Regions from separate parts of the Homo sapiens genome. Here regions 1, 2 and 4 are each linked to region 3. The links are contacts of gene promoters, found by promoter capture Hi-C in human tissues and cell types (Jung and others, 2019). All regions are on one chromosome and are shown on one strand. The core of a region is centred on a gene start or on the middle of the fragment in contact, and the rest is flanking DNA. Distances in the headings are between cores, read along the strand shown. Region 1 overlaps LRP1 (LDL receptor related protein 1). Region 2 overlaps MYO1A (myosin IA). Region 3 holds the start of NACA (nascent polypeptide associated complex subunit alpha). Region 4 overlaps LOC124902945 (a long non-coding RNA gene).

Region 1 (3,195 bases), core at 37-2,536, 450 kb before region 3:
GATGGTCAGGGAAGACCTCTGGGCAGAAGGAATCTGAGCAGAGGCCTGCATGAAGAGCGAGTGAGCCCAGAGGATCCCTGGAGGCACACTCCAGGCAAGGGGAACAGCCGCTGCAAAGTCTCATCTCCGAGATAGGACTACGCCAGCACTTCAGAAAACAGCACACAGGCCAGGCGCGGTGGCTCACGCCTGTAATCCCAGCACTTTGGGATGCCAAGGCGGGCGGATCACGAGGTCGGGAGATCGAGACCATCCTGGCTAACATGGTGAAACCCTGTCTCTACTAAAAATACAAAAAATTAGCCAGGCGTGGTGGCAGGCACCTGTAGTCCCAGCTACTTGGGAGGCTGAGGCAGGAGAATGGCGTGAACTGGGAGGCGGAGCTTGCAGTGAGCTGAGATTGCGCCACTGCACTCCAGCCTGGGCGACAGAGAGACTCCATCTCAAAAAAAAAAGAAAGAAAAGAAAACGCCACAGCTGCCCGGGAGGCAGAGCTTGCAGTGAGCCGAGATCACGCCACTGTACTCCAGCCTGAGCGACAGAGGGAGACTCCATCTCAAAAAAAAAAAAAAAGAAAAAAGAAAACGCCACAGCTGGAGTAGAGTGCAGGGGGAGGGGAGGGCAGGAATGCAGGTCAGAGGGGTAGGGGTGGGGGCCCTGCAGGCCGTGCAGAGGGGCTTGGCATTTGTTCCAAGGGTGCAGGGAGCCAGTACAGGCTGGAGGGCAGGGCCAGGGCATGATCTGACTTATGTTGTCAGGATCACTCTGGCTGCTGTCCTGAGATCTGACTCAGGAGGCCAGGAGAGGAGCAGGAGCACTGCCTGGTGGAGCCCCACACTCATACACTCATGCTGCCACAGACACCCCGCTCCTCCCCCTTCCCTACCCTGGACCCAGCTGATGCTCTCATCTCATGCCGGGACTTTCAGCAGCAGTCTCTGAACTGATTTTCCTTTCTTGGGGCCCCTGAACCTCTTCTCAATCTAATCTTCCTCTAGGGCTGTGTTCCGAAATCACCTCCTACATCACAGCACCTTCCGGCTTGGAAATCCTTCAAAGGTTCCCAGTGCCTCCCAAATCAAGCCTCTCACGATTTACACCTGCTGTCATCATCTGCCCCCTTTGAGGACAGCCTCATTCCCCACTGTCCCTGCACGAGCCTTTCCCTCGGTCTGAACGGCTCCACCTGGCCCCACTGTCACCCTACGGAAGTGCTCAGTTTCACCCTCTAAGTCTTGACGACAGCATTCTCCGGACCATGCCATCCCCACTGGAAGACCCTCCCTCCTGTCCATTTACCTGCAGTCTAAACACAACTCCTCCTGAATGGTCCCAGACCATCCAGCTCATACCATAGTTAACAACTGCTACCAATAGTGACACCCTGCTCCTCCACGCCAGGCCTCACATACCTCAGCTCATTTCATAAAGGAGGATGCCCAGGCTCAGGGGAAGCAACTTGTCCAAATTTGCCCAGCTTATCTGGGAGCGGCAGGGAGCTCTTCTCACCACACCACACAGCCTCCAGAGGCCCCTTCTCAGAACCCTAAGGGATATCACCTGTGCCCCTCACCCTCCCCTTCACAGAGATAGCCCTGGAGACGCAATTACTATTTCCCAAGCTTCCTGTGGCCTTCTCTGTCCTCCCTCTCAGGGCAGGGCTCAAGGTGGGCACTCAACGCTGTCCAGTCTTCTCCTACTAGGGTGGGAATGTGCCCTAACTCTATAAGGCAGAGGCTGTAATCTAGTGGTCCATGGGTCAGATGAGGCCTGCAGGAAGAGTTTGGTCTGTAGTTTTTTTTAAACTTTTTTTTTCTTTTGAGACAAGGTCTTATTCTGTCACCCAGGCTGGAGTGCAGTGGCGAGCTCACAGCTCACTGCAGCCTCAACCTCCTGGGCTCAACCTCTCACCTCAGCCTTCTGAGTAGCTGGGACTACAGGCATGTGCCTCCATGCCCAGCTAATTTTGTTTATTTTTTGTAGAGAAAGGGGTCTCACTATGTTGCCCAGGCTGGTCTTAAACTCCTGGAAACAAGTGATCCTCCTGCCTTGCCTCCCAAAGTGATAGGATTACAGGTGTGAGTCAACACACCCAGCCTTTTTTTTTTTTCTTTTCTTTTTTCAAGATGGGTTCTCCCTATGTTAACCAGGTTGGTCTTGAACCCCTGGCCTCAAGTGATCCTCCCACTTCACCCTCCCAGAGTGCTGGGATTATAGGCATGAGCCACCATGCCTGGCCTGCACCCAGCCTTTTAAAACTTCTAAAATCAACTGCCAGTTGGTATGGCTTGAATTGTGTTCCCTAAAAAGATATTAGTCCTATCCCATAATACCTGTGAATATGACTTTATTTGGAAATAGTGTCTTTGCAGATGGTCAACTTAAGATGAGGTCATAAGGGTGTATCCTAATCCAATATGACAGGTGTCCTCACAGAAAGGGGAAATGGGGATCTGGTGACAGACATGCCCACAGGGAGGACACCGTGTGAAGATGAAGGCAGAGATCGGGTCAAGCTTCGACAAGCCAAGGAGCTGCAAAGATTGCCAGCAAACCGCGGAGGCTGGGGAGAGGCCTGGGACAGAATCTCCCACACGGCCTCAGAAGGAACCCACCCTGCCAACAGTTGGGTCTGGGACTTCCAGCCTCCAGAACTGTGAGACGAGAGAAACTAATACTGTAGTGTTAAAAATTTGGTAGTTTTCACATAAAAATCTGCACATCTTCCAGAGCTAGGAAGCCAGCATTCCTTGAGAGGGCCCATCCCTCCAGAAAACTAGGTCCCCACCGCCCCCGAGGCTGGGCCCCAGAGGCCAGGGCACTGGGAGCCTTGTGGAGCCAGGCCCTCTCTCCTCTGTCTCTTCAGGCTCATTCATCCCTGCCTGCAGCATCCTTTTCTCAAGCTACTATTTACCAAACACAGGCCGTGTGCTGAGCACTTTTCGTGCGTGATCTCACTAAACTCCCACATCAGCGCTGTGATGTTGGTGCTATTATTACCCCACTTTGCAGACGAAACTCACAGAGGCCCATGGAGATTAAGTAACTTGCTCAAGGCCACCCAGATAATAAGCTGCAGAGCTGGAGCTCAAACCCAAGGCCACCAACTGCAAAGCGCATGATATTAACAGCGTGTGGCAATGATTTTTCGGCAACCTCCCTCTCCCACAGGACCGGGAGCTCCTGAAGGACAAG
Region 2 (3,031 bases), core at 121-2,620, 310 kb before region 3:
ACATAGAAGTGAGTGAAACTGGGGAGGCCAGTGTGTCTACTTTCTTTGAAACTTTTCAGTGAAGTGCACCGTGTGCAGCATAGGGGAATATGATGGGTTACACTGGCAATGATGTCAGCTCCTGAAGGCTGTGCCTTACCCCACCTCCCACCAGGTGCATAAAGCCCAATGAGCATCAGCAGCGAGGTCAGTTCTCTTCAGACCTGGTGGCAACCCAGGCTCGGTACCTGGGACTGCTGGAGAACGTACGGGTGCGACGGGCAGGCTATGCCCACCGCCAGGGTTATGGGCCCTTCCTGGAAAGGTACCGATTGCTGAGCCGGAGCACCTGGCCTCACTGGAATGGGGGAGACCGGTAAGACCCCATGGGGAGACTGGGCATCAGGAAAGGGCAGTGCAGGAAACATCTCTGGGGGAAGAGACCTGGAGGTGCAGTGCACATCTGCTGAAGCTGGGTGAATGGATACTTTGAGAAATGAATTGAATGATCACTTCTTGGAGGCTGAAAGGATTAGGGGAAAGGTGGAAGAGGACTTTCTCCTGAGATACCCCTCTGCAGCTTTCTGTCATTTGCTTCCATAGGGAAGGTGTTGAGAAGGTCCTGGGGGAGCTGAGCATGTCCTCGGGGGAGCTGGCCTTTGGCAAGACAAAGATCTTCATTAGAAGCCCCAAGACTGTGAGTTAGAGAGTGCATTAGCATTTGGTGAGGGTAGAAGGTGGAAGAGCCCACCTGAGAAAGGCTGGAGGGGGAGGGAGCGTGTATAACCTGGAATGGATCACTGTCCAGTGGATGGGAAGCTTCCTGTCTGCAGGAACCGTATCCCTGGGAATTGAACTCTTGGGTTCCTACACTGCCCTGAGCCTGGGGAGCTTGGTGCTGCATGGCTCTAAGTGCCTTTGCCTGAGGCAGAGCCCTTGAGGGTTGGGGTGATCAACTTCTAGCTTACTGCCTGCTACAAAGTTAGAGTTAAGTAGATACTTGTTTACTGAATGAATAAATGAGCAAACTAAGAAGACAAAGGAATGATCAAATAAGGCCTGGCTGGGAAGCCTCAGTACTGTGGGGTATAGGAGAGGACAGCACTGTTCCCCTGAGCCAGTCTCTCTGTCACCCCCTTCCACCTCTCCACAGCTTTTCTACCTCGAAGAACAGAGGCGCCTGAGACTCCAGCAGCTGGCCACACTCATACAGAAGATTTACCGAGGCTGGCGCTGCCGCACCCACTACCAACTGATGCGAAAGAGTCAGATCCTCATCTCCTCTTGGTTTCGGGGAAACATGGTACGGTCATCCCCAAAGTCCCACTCTGTTCACTCTAATAGGGAAGATGGAAGGTGGCTCAGGAGGTGCCATTTTTCTAACAACTCCTATGTTTTCTACAGCAAAAGAAATGCTATGGGAAGATAAAGGCATCCGTGTTATTGATCCAGGCTTTTGTGAGAGGGTGGAAGGTAATGGAGAGTGGAAGAGAGGTTTCCTCACATTGTTTCTCCTGGATTGTGTCACCTGCTGGCTAGAGCAGCAGAGAGCTAGTCCTGCCTGCACCCAGGCCGCACCTCTGTGTATCAGCCGGTCCATGTGTGGGTGGGTGTCTGGGAGTGAGAGGCCTGTAGGGGAGACCTGTAGAGGTGTCTGGGTGGGTAGATGCCTAACTTGGCAGCAGAACTTTGCCTTCTGCTCTAAGTGTCCTCACTGCCAACTTGTCTGATTTTACTTCCAACTTCCAGCTACAGTCTCAGCTCTTTATCTTACTCAGGTCTTTGCGTGGTTGAAAAATAGTACAACCTCTTCTAGAATCTGCCTATCTTCACTTTGGCTCCTTTCTTGTACTTTTCTGCCAGGCCCGAAAGAATTATCGCAAATATTTCCGGTCAGAGGCTGCCCTCACCTTGGCAGATTTCATCTACAAGAGCATGGTAAGTGGTAGGGGTTAGGGTGGATGTTAGGGATGGAGCAGGGAGGCACAGGTTTGGGAGAGGGGTTTGAGAAGAGGCAACCCAAAGCTTTCCCCCAAGAGTTTCCTCAGTCTGCATGTACTTAAGTCCTAGGAGAAGAGGGCAGCTACCTGCAGGGACCAGGCCCCAGTGCCTTGGACTCGGGGGCAGAATCAGATAGCATTTTGGCATGAGTGGACAATCCAGGCAACCTTGTGGCAGGAAGGGGTCTCAGCACACCCACCATCTGGTCTATGGTCAAATAGCCTTGTGAAGATCCTGGGGCTGGATGTTTAACAACTGTTGAAGAGGCTAAGCCTCATTGAAGAGTAGAGTGATCCACACATTAACTAGCTCAACCTCCCAAGATCCATTTTAGGGTTGGGGTGAGAGTAGGCGAATTGTATCTTCCTTCTACTTCCTCTGAAACTATTGTCAGCAAGTCAGAAAGTAAATCTCAGGAAGGACCTATCCTAATTCTGGAGGACGTGGGTCAGGCTGGATGGGAAGACCCACCTGGAAGGCCTACATATTCAAACTTACAGACAGCTCCCAGGGGGAGAAAAACAGGGACAGAGAAGAGTAACTTCTGGAGACTTCAGTCAGATAGCAATAGTGCTTCTGAGAAGTGTCAGGGAGGAAACCAGGGAGGGAGAAGCACTTCCAATGAAACCTTGGGAAAGGCCAGAGAGAAGGAGGAAGAGCATGGGATCTTGGACAGAGGCTGGAGCAAATTGGTAATTGACCTCCGCTGATTGGGTTTTTGACCATAGTTAGGACCCTGACTGTGCTCATTCAGACATAAGACATGTTTGCTTGCAGCCCCTCTTTGTTGTTTGAGAGTCTGGATCCCTCAGCTCAAGAGAGGAATGGGGGCTCTGAAGCTCTGGACCTCTTTTTTGCCTTCCTGAGCCTTCATTTGCTCGTCCTCTTCCCCTTCCCAGGGAAGTTCCATCTTCCAGGTCTCTTCAGTTGCCTGATCACCTCTTGTGCTGGTGCCAGAGTGTCTGCCTTCCCACCATACATGCTTCTTGCTACACACCTGAGACCTGTAATCTGATTTTGCTGTTATCTCCTGACTGCCCTTCTTCTTCCT
Region 3 (3,249 bases), core at 362-2,861:
CCAGACACCTAGAATAAATAAGCTTAGAATATCCAAGAAGTGCCAGGGGCGGTAGTTCACGCCTGTAATCCCAGCACTTTGGGAGGCCGAGGCAGGCGGATCACCTGAAGTCAGGAGGAGACCAGCCTGGCCAACATGGAGAAAGCCCGTCTCTACTAAAAATACAAAAAATAGACTGGCGTGGTGGCGCATGCCTGTAATCCCAGCTACCCGGGAGGCTGAGGCAGGAGAATCGCTTGACCCGGGAAGGGGAGGTTGCAGTGAGCCGAGATCGTGCCTTTGCACCCCAGCCTGGGCAATAAAAGTGAGACTGTCCCAAAAACAAAACAAACAGGCTGGGCATGGTGGCTCACGCCTGTAATCCCAGTAGTTTGGGAGGCCGAGGCAGGCGGATTACCTGAGGTCAGGAGTTCAAGACCAGCCTGGCCAACATGGTGAAACCCGTCTCTACTAAAAATAAAAAATTAGCCGGGGGTGGTGGCACACACCTGTAATCCCAGCTACTCGGGAGGCTGAGGCGGGACAACTGCTTGAGCCCTGGAGGCGGAGATTGCAGTGAGCCGAGATCGTGCCACTGCACTCTAGCCTGGCCGACAGAGCGACTCAAAAAAAAAAAAAAAAAAATCCAAGAAGTGCCCAAAATAGCAAGCAAAGGAATTGTATATGTGCCTATGTTCTTTTTTTCTGGGAAGGAGAATCTGCAGCTTTATAATTTCAACATCGGCTAAATTGTCGTGAACCTAAAACAATCAAAAGGGCCGGAATCTATTTAAAGAGTTTATTCAAGGGCAGTGTGAGGATGGACCAACCAGAAAACCTCCAAAGAATGGAGTCAGCCTTCAGAAGTAGAGAAGTTACGATTTCATTTATTTAGGGAGACAGAGGAGTTTTTAGCTGGATTACGTTATCCATACAAGGTTGGAACATAATTACAGAATTTGGTTACAAGAAGTGTTTTTTTTGGGGGGGGGGCGGGGGTACAGCTAACATTGTTTTACGAAGAGTTTAACACGCATGAGTTGCTGTCATCTGGTGACATCGTTTGAGTCTCTCTAGTCATTGAACAGAACAAGAAAAATCGAATTAAATTTATAATCTGAACTGAAGTTATATGTGACCCATCACATCTCTCAAGTTTTAAAATGGGTTTTTTTGTTGTTGTTGATGGGGGGGGAGAGGGTCCAGCAGCTTTTAAATGTTTTCACATCGTGTGTTCCAAAAATAACTGGTTAGCCTAAGTCACTTCCACCCTCCAATGTTGTGAATGCAGTCTCTAGCATTCGCTATTTAATGTCTTCTTCCTGCACTATTTGAGAAATCGCGAGGTCGACTTAATACCGCAGTCGCCACTTCGCGGACCGGAGGGCGGAGTCTGCTTAGTTCTGAGGACTGCGTGGGTCCGCGCAGAGAGCTCCTGCTAGGCCTGCGCGTCCCGTTCTAAATTCTTACCCTTTAGTCCTTGTCACCACCCCCGCCGTGGGAACGGCCTGACAGTCACTCGTCAAAGGAAGTGGCTGCCGGCAGCTCTTGACCCGGAATCGGATCCTAGTCCCACCCCCTCCGCTCCAGGCTTCCTTCTGCAACAGGCGTGGGTCACGCTCTCGCTCGGTCTTTCTGCCGCCATCTTGGTTCCGCGTTCCCTGCACAGTAAGTACTTTCTGTGCCGCTACTGTCTATCCGCAGCCATCCGCCTTTCTTTCGGGCTAAGCCGCCCCGGGGACTGAGAGTTAAGGAGAGTTGGAGGCTTTACTGGGCCACAGGGTTCCTACTCGCCCCTGGGCCTCCGGACAAAATGGGGTCTGCGGTTGGTGTCCTGGCAAAAGCAGGGTAGAAGGGCTGCGGGGCGGGCCCAGAATCCGAGCCTGCAGAGATGGGAGCAGTTGCAGTGTTGAGGGCGGAAGAGGAGTGCGTCTTGTTTTGGGAACTGCTTCACAGGATCCAGAAAAGGGTAAGGGGTCACAGCCTTAGAACCTGTAACACCGTTCTCCCTGTGACAAGCAAGTGTTGGACTTAAAACACCGTCTTTCCCCTCCTGGTACCCCAAAGTCGGCAAACGTAGTCCAGGAGGCCCCAGCCCAGCCAGTGTGAGTATTAGGAGTGGAGGGGGTTCACAGTAGCGTCTGAAGTCTCCCATGATCGAGAGCCAGCCCGGGATCCTCTCCCTCGGGTTGAGAATGCAGTGGGAATTGCTGGCCTTGATAGAGGCGTGAGGGTCACATCATATTTACCTCTTATTCCCAGGTGCTTTGGGGAAGGTTGTCACCAAACACCCTCACGATTTTTTTCTAACAGCCCTCCTCGGAGTTTTTAAGAATACTTATCTCCGGGTTGGGCAAGTGAATGTATCCCAATCAATTTAGGCCTCCTTTTTATTCCCTTCCTTCAGAAATGCCCGGCGAAGCCACAGAAACCGTCCCTGCTACAGAGCAGGAGTTGCCGCAGCCCCAGGCTGAGACAGGTAGGTTTCCCTACCCTCCTTGCCATTAATTAAAATTAACCCTAAAGCCATTTGGTGGGCAAAATGACCAAGGGGAAATACACTTTTTAGGAGGATGGGGTTGCAGCTTTACCAAGGAGGATAGACCGTAAAATTACTATCCTGGAGATACTTCTTTAGGGATTTGGAGTAAAAATAATATTTTTAAGATTCGTGGACGTTAAAAGTACCCTAGCTTGCTTTCTATGTTATGCCTGTCGCCTCAAAAGAAGCTCTCCTGTGGAACCCCCACCTCACATAGGAAAACTCAGCAGGGAATGGGCTCAGTGATTCTTACCTATTGGAACTAGATGACACAGGCCAAGGAGCCCGGAGCATTTGTGAAACTCCAGCCAGCAAGTTGCATCAAGGTTTTAGTTAGCAGAGCTTGGCATTGTGCCTTTATCACATGTCTGGATGAGATGTGTGCTGGTGGTAAATGTGTCCTACTGGGCCCCAGAGTCGTCCTAGGTCGGATAACTTGTTTATGGGTTGGTGGTGCTGAGATACTTCTAGTGTGCTGGAATAGTTCCTGCATCATTGTGTGAAACCCAGGATTGAAATAAATCCTTTTATCCTCAGCGTCGAAATTAACGACTGTGAAGGCTAATTTTAAATTCTGGTTAAAACATATCTCTGTAGAAAACTTAGGAGGAGGTAATGAAAAGTTCTTAAAATGATAGCCTTTCTGAGTCAGTTGTGCAGCGTTAAATGAAGGAAATCTTCAGGCTGTAATTTTCATTCTCACCTTTTTGGTTTTTTTTAAATTTCAT
Region 4 (3,142 bases), core at 314-2,813, 260 kb before region 3:
TTAGTGATGTTGAGCATTTTTTCATATATCTGTTGGCCATTTGAAAAATGTCTTTTGAAAAATGTCTTCTTTTGAAAAATGTCTATTCATGTCATTTGCCCACATTTTAGTGGGATTATTTGTGGGGTTTTTTTTTTTCTTGCTCGAGTTCTTTGTATATTTTGGATATCTCCCCTGTCAGATGAATAGTTTACAAATATTTTCTCCAGTTCTGCGGGTTGTTCATTCTGTTGCTTATTTCTTTTGTTGTGCAGAGCTTTTTAGTTTAGTTAAGTCCCAGTTGTTTATTTTTGTTTTTGTTGCCTGTGCTTCTGAGATCTTAGTCATAAATTCTTTGCCTAGTCCAATGTCCAGGAGACTTTTCCTTATACTAGATAGTAGATTTTTCCTGCAATACTAGATTTTCTTCTAATAATTTAATAATAGTTTTGGGTCTTATATGTAAGTCTTTAATCCATCTTGAGTTGATTTTTGTGTCTGGTGAGAGATAGGAGTTTAATGTCAGTTTCTTAATATGTAAAGTGAGGATAATGATGCTTCCCTTACAGGTTATTATATGGGATACATGAGATAATATATACAAGCATGCTCCTTTTCCACTTCATGGGGATAAGGAAAAAGGAATCCCATCTTGTGGAATTGACACTGAGAGACCTCTCTAGTCCTATTACCACCAGCCATTTTTTTCCTCTCTGAATTAGATCAACATGAGCCTCCTCTTTTATTTGGCTGTCTTGGGTTGTGTTTTTTACATAGAAGGGTGGGAACATTCCCAAATGTCACTATGAATTACCACAGAGAAATGTAGTAATAGTAACAGCTGATGTTTATTGAATACGCACCATTGGCTAGACACAGTTGTAAGGGGCTTTATCCATATCACCTCATTTAATCCTCATAACAACTTCATGGAGTGGGTACTACCATCGACAAGGAAACTGAAGCACAGAAACTTTAAATAACTTGCCCCAGTCACACAGCTAGTAGGTCAATAAGCCCATATTACAAGGATTCTTGAGCTGGATTCCATGCAGCTAATGGTTTTAGGTGTGAACTGTATGAAAAGTATAAGCAAGTTTTTGATTGTTGTGTTATGTGGGGGGCTTATAACCTTCCTTAGATTCTCGAAGGGGCCCATGATGTCCAAAAGCTTTAAAAAAAAATGACCCTTGGAGAGCTTCTGCTAGACTGGGGTCAGGATAAAAACAGCAATGTTGGGTATCCACTTGTGTGGAGCTGACTCAGCCCTGGGAATTCTAGGAAATTTCTTGCATGAGGAAGGAGGTGTCTCCTTCATGAAGGCTGAGGGATTTGTAGGATGATCTCGGAGGGATTTGAAAAGGGGAAAGTGAATGTCTTTGCTTCCCATTCCCTATCTTTCACTAGATGAAGGACAACTGTTTCCTCTGTGATTTCCCAAGTGTGAGAAGGGAGGGTGTGACATCAGTCTAAGGAAGAGGAAGCTTGAAAAGACTGATAAGAGACTGGAAGGGCCCCAGGTACTATTAATATCCCTCTGCCGCCTACAGCACTAGCAGCCTCCCCGCATGCCGCCACCCTTCCCCCTTCCTTTGGTCTCCTATCTCTCCCAGCTTCTGTTTCTCCCTCACTCTCCCATCTCCTGATCTGCACCCCTCCCCCAGCCTCTCTGTAGATGTGGTAAGTCTCTTGTTGGTTCCAGATTTCTTCCGTTTCTGTTAACTTTTGTTGAGCACCTAATGTATGCTGGTCAGAAATTCTCCAGTGCTTCCCAAGACCCCATCTTTCTAAGTTTTCACCATTTTAATAAAGGCATATGGATTCTTAGACTCCCTGAAATTGGAGATGGGAGGACTTGACAAAGTCATCTTGATTCTCCTCCCTCGTTATAAAGATGAGAAAAATGGAGGCTTTAGGAAATCTCATATTGTCGCATGATGTAAGAAATAGTGATGAAAATGGAAAGCGAAGCCAGATGTTGCAGTGTCAGCTACCTCAACATTCCTTCATCTCTGCTAGAAGCTAGCACTGCCGGGGCTGGAAATACAAAAATGACTGGACTCAGTCTCGGAGCCCTCAAGGGGCTCCGAGTCTGTCAAACCTCTAGTATGCAGCACACTCAAGGCACCATCCATGTTGCTTAATTAACAGTAGTCCAGTCTCTTACCAGCCAGCAGTCTTGCTGTTTCCCTCCTTCTTGGAGGATCCGTGCAGGGAGATATGGGGGCTCCCCGATGCTGGAGAGAGTGGCCATTGGGATGAGCTGAAGAGCCTTGGCTGATCCCAGGCCGATGCCCACGTCGTGACTGCAGGGCTAGAGAAGAACCACCAGGGGGCGCGCGGCTCTTTGCTAGCCTCTGGTTTCTGCAGGAAACCTCTCCTTCCCCCTCCCAGTCCATCTCCACTTCTTCCTTCAATTAGGGGACAGAAATTGGGCAAACATGGACAGTGGGAGAGAGGCCCAGTGCAAATAAACCCTGGATTATTCTGTCCCACACCTACTCCCCCAGCTCCCTGCCCCTCTACATCCTGCCCACCAGTTATGAAATAGTTTCCTCGACCTCACACCGAGGGACCCTCCATGGACAGCAGAGGTCCAGTCTGTACCCCTTTCTGTAGTCTCCTGAGAAGGAGATCCCTCCTGTCCATCAACACCCTGATACAAACTGAAGTAATACCTTTACAGTTACTAGGGTTCATATCCTTCCCTGCTTGGGCAAGGTTTTGGACCACCATCCTCATTGTCCTTGTTCAAATGAGCAATGTTTTTAGCCTCTCAGTGTCTGAGGGGTCCAGATCCTGGATGTGGGCCCTGACAGGGGAGGGCAGAGGGCAGTGGAGCCAGCACCCAGGGCATATCAGGAGGTGAGCAGGTGAGCCCTGTGACACCTGCATAAGTCATTCCATTCCCCTTCCCAGCAGCCCTGGGTACTTCCTTCCTGTGGGTTCCAAGGCTCCATTCCCTTCTTTCCCCTTTCTTTACCTGTGAGGTTGGACTCTCCCTGTGGGTGTTCCACATCTTTCTGCCCCAGAAAACTACTGTAGCAGGAGGGGACTTGCTCTTGTTCACTTTTTTGCCTTCTCCTTCTCATCCTAGAGAGCCTGATCGTGCCCTACTTTTCTGGGGAGTGATTGATTCTGGATGCTGGGTGGGATGAGGAAA

What was found. The method cuts DNA at HindIII sites, captures the fragments that hold promoters and counts their contacts. A contact is called where the count stands out against the background at its distance.
Region 1: a fragment that was not itself captured here is called in contact with the fragment with the promoter of NACA in region 3 in 3 of the 25 tissues and cell types used here (dorsolateral prefrontal cortex, lymphoblastoid cells and mesenchymal stem cells).
Region 2: a fragment that was not itself captured here is called in contact with the fragment with the promoter of NACA in region 3 in 3 of the 25 tissues and cell types used here (bladder, lymphoblastoid cells and mesenchymal stem cells).
Region 4: a contact is called between a fragment that was not itself captured here and the fragment with the promoter of NACA in region 3, in 12 of the 25 tissues and cell types used here (H1 embryonic stem cells, IMR-90 fibroblasts, adrenal gland and 9 more).

The regions. Positions count from the first base shown.
Region 1 is chr12:57,169,441-57,172,635 of GRCh38, reverse strand. All of the region lies in intron 20 of LRP1 (LDL receptor related protein 1), which reads right to left. Among named protein-coding and RNA genes, the nearest start is that of LRP1-AS, 23 kb to the right of the region's middle. The HindIII fragment of the contact is 3,835 bases long and covers 1-3,195 here.
Region 2 is chr12:57,035,193-57,038,223 of GRCh38, reverse strand. MYO1A (myosin IA) reads left to right here. Exons shown (of 28, transcript NM_005379.4): 18 at 155-355; 19 at 583-676; 20 at 1,133-1,282; 21 at 1,384-1,452; 22 at 1,843-1,917. Among named protein-coding and RNA genes, the nearest start is that of MYO1A, 13 kb to the left of the region's middle. The HindIII fragment of the contact is 4,199 bases long and covers 1-3,031 here.
Region 3 is chr12:56,723,661-56,726,909 of GRCh38, reverse strand. It overlaps NACA (nascent polypeptide associated complex subunit alpha), which reads left to right and starts at 1,611. Exons shown (of 9, transcript NM_001365896.1): 1 at 1,611-1,647; 2 at 2,387-2,458. The coding sequence starts at 2,389. RefSeq lists enhancers at 1,536-1,665, 1,756-1,805, 2,865-2,984. The HindIII fragment of the contact is 10,398 bases long and covers 1-1,804 here.
Region 4 is chr12:56,986,879-56,990,020 of GRCh38, reverse strand. The region is part of intron 2 of LOC124902945 (a long non-coding RNA gene); the gene reads left to right. Among named protein-coding and RNA genes, the nearest start is that of ACKR5, 6.0 kb to the left of the region's middle. The HindIII fragment of the contact is 5,723 bases long and covers 1-3,142 here.